Linked DNA regions of Homo sapiens: region 1 is linked to region 2. Evidence: promoter capture Hi-C in 16 types of primary human blood cells and fetal thymus (Javierre and others, 2016). All regions are on one chromosome and are shown on one strand. The core of a region is centred on a gene start or on the middle of the fragment in contact, and the rest is flanking DNA. Distances in the headings are between cores, read along the strand shown.

Region 1 (3,374 bases), core at 243-2,742, 470 kb after region 2:
GAGACCAGATTCCAACCACTAGACACGGCTGCGTCCCTGAAGGCCCGGCTGCTGCAGGCCTCCCTCGATCTGGCCAGGAATGACTCCTTTCCTCCTCTATTGCTATCAGGAGAGGTAGGAGGTGTTAGAGAGACCTCCCCTGCCCACCACACACACCTTCCAGCTTGAGGCTGCCTAAAGATCCCTCAGAAACCCCTGACCTTGTCCCTTCCCTTCCCCCTCCTCCTTGTTCTCCACGCTCTGACCAAGTGGAATTTTCCCCTTCACCACTTCAGGGTCACTTGGTAAAGATTAGTTGGGCAGAAAAGTCAGGGTTGGAGGAAGGGTGTATTTGGAAAGAGGGCTGGGCTGGAGATGAGGAAACTTGGGGTCCAGAAGCTGCTCTGCCACACTCCAGCTCACTGACCCTGGTCAAGTTGCCTCACCCACTTGGGCCTCTCTTTCCTCATTTGCCTAATAAACGTTTGAAATCCCTACACTACTCTTAAAGTGTCTACAACATTTAAAAGCAAATTGCCCCTATTAGAAATCTGGGGCCGCTCCTGCCTTTTCCACGACCTCCCTGCTAGAAGGTCCCAGAACTTTCCCTTTTGACTCCAGAGACACCAACTCTGCTGATGTCACAACTCTCCTCTGACTGCAGGTTAATTTCTGGTGGATGCAATTTCCCTGCCTCTGCTGTTTTTACTGCAGTAGAGTTGCCCTGTGGTACACAGGCAGGTTATTGTTTTATTCTTTACTTTTGAAGCACAGTCAAGAGTTTCAAAAGGGATAAATCAGGAAGGTCCCGCAGGGCTGATGTTCCGTACAAACACCCTGTAAGCCTCTGGGTGTGCCTGTCATCAGTTCTTATACAGACATCATGGGGCTACCGCCTTAGTTTGTAGTTTCTGAATAGCTGGAGGAGGGCGTATTACAGTTGAATAGGAGGGAGTTGCCAGGGAGCTGCCCATCCAATATCTTCTGTTTGTACAAGTTTTAGTTGGATACCCAGAGTCATAGAAATGATTTCTTTTCAATAATAACAGAATCTCTAAAGAGATAAGCCTCCATCCCCTGGGAGGCCAAATGAACAACAGTGTGATATGAGCTGTTTTAGGAATGCAAGTCGGTATCCCGTGATCCCCAGGGACAAAGAGAACAAGTTTAGGGTTGTTCTTGCGTGTGGAAGGAAGCTAGAGAGGTTCCACCTGTCGGAATTGTCATGCATCCTCCTTTATGGACGGACCAGCTATGAGCTACTGCCTTTCCATCAGCAGATGGTTCAAATGAACCCAGAGATTAGGTCTACAGAAAATATAGGTCGCAGCAAAGGAGAAATTCTACGTGAAAGTAGTTAGCACAGCACTCAGCATATGGTAGGGATCCTATAAATATTAATTTTTCCTCACATATAAAAATTCCAATTTGCAGGGTAATCTCAGCTTGTAAAGAAGTGAAAGTTAGAGTGGTAGATTTGTCTCCAGAGATGGTGACAGCACTCTCTGCCATCACACATGTTCTTTTGTATTGTGGCTTTGCTGTCTCTCCTTAAGAAGAGTCTATTTCCCCTTCCCTTGAATTCAGGCAGGTCCTGCAACCTTTTTGACCAATAGAAGTTGGCAGAAGCAGGAGCACACACGGGCGGGCTTGTGAGTGAAGCCTTCTTGGCCTCCCAGCCAAGCCCAGGCACCAGCTGAATGCAGCCGAGTGAATTATCCCAGCCAACCTGCGTGAAGCAGAAGAAACATCATCCCAAATTCTAGCCCCAGAAAATCAAGAACAAATAAAACCATGGTTGTTTGAATCTGCTACATTTTGAGATTGATTTTTTGTTTTGTTTTGTTTTTCAGATGGAGTTTCGCTCTTGTTACCTGGGCTGGAGTGCAATGGCGTGATCTTGGCTCACCACAACCTCTGCCCCCCCGGGTTCAAGTGATTCTCCTGCCTCAGCCTGAGTAGCTGGGATTACAGGCAGGCGCCACTGCACCTGGCTAATTTTGTATTTTTTAGTAGCAATGGGGTTTCTGCATGTTGGTCAGGCTGGTCTCGAACTCCCCACCCCAAGTGATCTGCCCGCCTCGGCCTCCCAAAGTGCTGGGATTACAGGCGTGAGCCACCACGCCCAGCCTGGAGGTTGTTTTTTATGTGGCAACAGATAAAGCAAGTTTTCAGAATAAATCTGTTAAATTGACTTTAGCCTAAAACTGCCTCCTTACCTATTGGTGCAAAAGTTGGTGCAAAAGTAATTGCAGTTTTTGCCATTAAAAGTAATGTCACCAGCCAATATTTTAAGTTTGGCCTAAGGTTTCTCTGTACATCGTGAGCTATAACCTAAATGGAAGTGCAAACAGACTGTAACCTACTCTTGTGCCAATCACTGAGTTTTGCCCAATCTATGGTGGTCAACTCTTTGGACTGTGTTCAAATAAGGCAAATGCTGAGCTGTAACCAATCTGGCCAGTTCTGTACCTCACTTCCATCTTCTGTACATCACTTTCCTTTGTTCTGTCTATAAATCATCTTCCACCACCTAGCTGTGCTGGACTCTCTGAGCCTACTCTGGCTCTGGAGGCTACCTGATTTATGAATCATTCTTTGCTCAATTAAACTCTGTTAAATTTAGGCCGGGCGCTGTAGCTCGTGCCTGTAACCGCCGCACTTTGGGAGGCTGAGGTGGGAGGATCACTTGAGGCCAGGAGATCGAGACCAGCCTCGCCCACGTGGTGAAACCCAGTCTGTACTAAAAAGACAAAGTATTAGCCAGAGGTGGTGGTGCATGCTTGTAATCCCAGCTAATTGGGAGGCTGGGCCAGGAGAATCCTCGAACTTGGGAGGCAGAGGTTGCGGTGAGCCGAGATCACACCACTGCACTCCAGCCTGGGTGACAAGAGCAAAACTCCATCTCAAAAATAAAATAAAATAAAATAAACTCTGTTAAATTTAATTTGGCTAAGGATTTTATTTTAACAATTCAAGAAAGAGTTTCAAAATTTAACCTTTCCATAAGATTTTTCTTTTTCTTTCTATCCTCCCCAAATTTTTCATATAATCCGTGTACTTTCAAAAATAAGTTCTCCAGAAACATTGCCAAGGGTTCTGTGGATTCATTCACTTAGCAAGGTTTTGAGAAACATTTTTAACACAAACATTTAAATGTGCATGTAATTTCCATCCTCAGAGAGCTTAATACTAACCATGTAGACTAGACACATATACATCGAATGCTAATAATCTACAAGGCAGTATATGACTATAGCTAAGTGATCTCTAAACCCTGTTTTGACCCTGAAATTCCATTAGGCCATGGAACTAAGTATACAAACATTGAGTTCAGGGAAGACTCTTTGGGGTTCATCAGTATCAGAAAAACAGAAAATTAAACACACACGAGC
Region 2 (3,302 bases), core at 47-2,546:
TCATGTCTTTGATTCCTTTGCCAGGTCTCCTCTTCCCCCAGCCTTACTGTGGATGATCCCAGGATCAGTCCTTACACCTCTTTATTAATATTCATTCTATGTCTCACAAAGACCATCACAGGCTGACAGTGAGCAAGTTTATATTTCAGACATGGGTCTCGCTCCTGAACCCAAGATCTGAATATTTTAATTGCCTATTTCATCTCCACGTGATGTCCAATGGGCACTTCCAACTCAATACGTCTTAAACAGAACTCTTGATCTTCCCCATTTCCAAACCCTGGCAAGCCTTTAACCTCTCTGCTCTTATTTCCTTGCCTAGAATACAGGGCACGTAATAGCAACAGTGCAGGCTGGAGCTACAGTGCCCGGCTTGGCACTGTTCACTTGCTGTGTGAACTACTTCACCTCTTCATCCCCAAGTTCCCTCATCTGTAAAATGGAAATAACAATATTAACAGCCCCTACGTTACAGGGTTGCTGTGAAGCGGTTAGAACAGTGTCTACAGGGTCAGCGCTGTAATACCTGTTGGAAATTATTCTTACGAAGACCAAATGAGGTAACTTTGTGCAAGTGCTGTGTAAACGACACAGTGCTAGGCACACACTTCTTTCAGTACCAATGCCACTCGAGTCTGTGAAAAGCAAATGTCAATAATGCTTTCCCAAGATCTTTCTAGACTTAAATTTCAGGACCTAGGTGTTTCCACAAAGCACCGTATTTGTTACCGTGAAAGATTAACAAAAAAAGCAGACAAAATGGCATAGTGCTTCTCAGCAATAGCCCCTAAGGGCTTGGCAGGTATACGGAAGACTGGGAGCTCATCCCCATGGGGTGGTGGGACGCGTAGGGGAGGGGGAGATCTAAGTGTATGATTTTCCTTGCTCACAAGAAGCAGATACTCTATCCCGAGGCATATTTGAATTTCCTAAAAGGAAAAAAAGTGGGGGAGAGGAGGGAAGTTGAGAGGGGAGGAGAAAAGAAAAGAAAAAAGAAAATAAGAGAAGCAGAAAGCAAGCCACCTTCTGGCTTGGGGAAGCCCACTCCATGGCTGTGGCTGGGAGCCCATCACTTACGCGTTCGACATTGCTGGCTACTTTCCCTCTTTTCCTCGCCCTCCGGGAAGCTCTTCCGTTGCTCTCTGAAGGACGGTGGCAGCAGGGGTCAGGGCACTACCAGGAGCTACAGAGGATTTGGGTGGGGGGTCTTCTGGAGGGAGAAACCAGGACTGCGAGAATCTTCTGCTTCGGGCAGGAAAAGGTGAGGCCGGGTTTGCTTCGCAGGCACGGAGCGCGCAGGCGCAGAGAGGTGTTTCACTCCTTCCCGTCGCGACCCAGAGACTCGCGAACCTCACTTCGGCCACTCAGGTGGGCGCGACGCGGCCCTAGCAACGGAAACGCCGCGCCTGCGCATTGCCTTCCGCCTGCCCCCTCCCCCCCCCCGCCCCCCGCATTCCGCGCCTGCGCCACCGCGGGAGGCCTGGGTGGGCGCAGCTGTGGGAGCCGGTCGGAGTCCGAGCGCTCCGTCGCGGGGCCCGGCCGCTTGGCGAGCCTGCTCCGGGCCCCAGCACTTAGCCTGTGGTCCTCCAGGCCGTCTTCCCGCTTTCCTGCTGGCCCCATTTTCATCCACTGTCAGCTCTGCGGCCTTGGGCAAGGCCCTTAATGATGGTGGTCTTCAGTTTTCCCATCTGTAAACTGGGTATAACAGTCGTTCGTTCAGAACTTTACTGGGCATCTATTCTGGGCCAAGTGCAGACTTAGATTCTGGGCACCCAAGACTTAGGCAGACGCGCCCTTCGGAGACTTAATGAGTATGAACTAAGGCGCGGGTGCGTTGTAAATGTAAAATGCAGTGTGGATGCTATTAACAGTTATCCGTAAGTCGCTATGAGTGTTGGCTTTCATTGCTCTTCTTTCTTCGACTTTAGTAACTGTTGAGGTTTATTTGCACATTTTAGACCCTGCAGCTCCTATTGGAACGCCAGGTTTAATGCTGTCAAAGGCGTGGAGAGGACATCCAGGTAAAAATTATAATCAGGATCACAAAACCTCTCCCCCACCATTACTAATGAAATGCGCAAAAGCATAGTAAAAGCCAGCCCTCCGCACCGCCTTCAAATAATGGAGCAAATTATTTCTCAGACGAGAAATTGAGTACAACCTTGTACCGTAAACTTCAAAAACTCAGTGAAATAGCAGCTTGCCGTGGAGAATGGTGTCCAGCCTCATCTCCACCCTCCCAAAGCCCTTCAGGGGGCAGAGACCAAGTAGACACAACACCAAGAATTCTCATTAATGCTTTTTGATGCAAAGAATACACACACTGAAAAGAAGGGGTATGAAAGGGTGAGCCGAACGAGGAAACACCTGGGGAAATCCGGCCAGATAAAACCATCCTGAGTGGAGGTCAATCCCTACCGCTCCCAGGACCTGAGCAGGGACAGGAGAAATCTCCAGGGCTTGCCTTTTTCTAGGTCCCTACATTGAATTGAGGCAAAGATTCAAAGTCAAAGGGCATGTTGTCACAGGAATAGGGCACACTCGTGACAAGAGTGGGAGGATGGTGGTAAAGGAGCTTATCAAAATCTCAGAAGAGAGCACAGAGCCTGGAAGTTGTGTGGATTCAAGGGAGCAGTCCTTATCCTAAATGTGTACTCAGGTTCCAGAAAAGCAGAGAAAAGTGCAGTATCTCAGCTCTGGAACTCAGATACAGTGAGAAGACAGTCAAAGAGAATTCGCCCACATTATATTTGAACAAACAGAACATTTTCAAAGAGCAACACGTGTTAAATAGGAATAAGACAGAAAGAAGCAGCATATCCACTGTCTAAAACCAAGACTTTCATAAAAGTAGAAGAAAAGAAAGGATTATAACATAGGCCAGACAAGTGAAAGAAAGTCTGGAGAAAATCTAACCAAATAAATAAAAGCAGAAAAATCTTTTTTGTTTGTTTGTTTTGAGATGGAGTCTCCCCCTGTCACCCAGGCTGGAGTGCAGTGTGTGATCTCGGCTCACGGCAACCTCCACCTCCCGGGTTCAAGCAATTCTCCTGCCTCAGCCTCCCACGTAGCTGGGATTACAGGCGCCTACCACCATGCTCAGCTAATTTTTTGTATTTTTAGTAGAGACAGGGTTTCACCATGTTAGTCAGGCTGGTCTGGAACTCCTGACCTCAGGAGATCTGCCCGCCTCGGCCTCCCAAAATTCTGGGATTACTGGCGTGAGCCATCGCGCCCTGCCAAAACAGAAAAATCTTTACTTGTGCTCCATGCTATAGAATAAGCTAATAAGAACATTAAGG

What was found. The method cuts DNA at HindIII sites, captures the fragments that hold promoters and counts their contacts. A CHiCAGO score of 5 or more calls a contact.
Region 1: a contact is called between a fragment that was not itself captured here and the fragment with the promoter of DRC11 in region 2, in 1 of 17 cell types (M2 macrophages). The highest score is 7.0, in M2 macrophages.

Annotation. Positions count from the first base shown.
Region 1 is chr2:236,976,552-236,979,925 of GRCh38, forward strand. All of the region lies in intron 1 of COPS8-DT (COPS8 divergent transcript), which reads right to left. Among named protein-coding and RNA genes, the nearest start is that of COPS8-DT, 110 kb to the right of the region's middle. The HindIII fragment of the contact is 4,273 bases long and covers 1-3,374 here.
Region 2 is chr2:236,506,180-236,509,481 of GRCh38, forward strand. It overlaps DRC11 (dynein regulatory complex subunit 11), which reads right to left and starts at 1,297. Exons shown (of 19, transcript NM_024726.5): 1 at 1,078-1,297. The coding sequence starts at 1,088. RefSeq lists a silencer at 1,423-1,472. The HindIII fragment of the contact is 24,475 bases long and covers 1-3,302 here.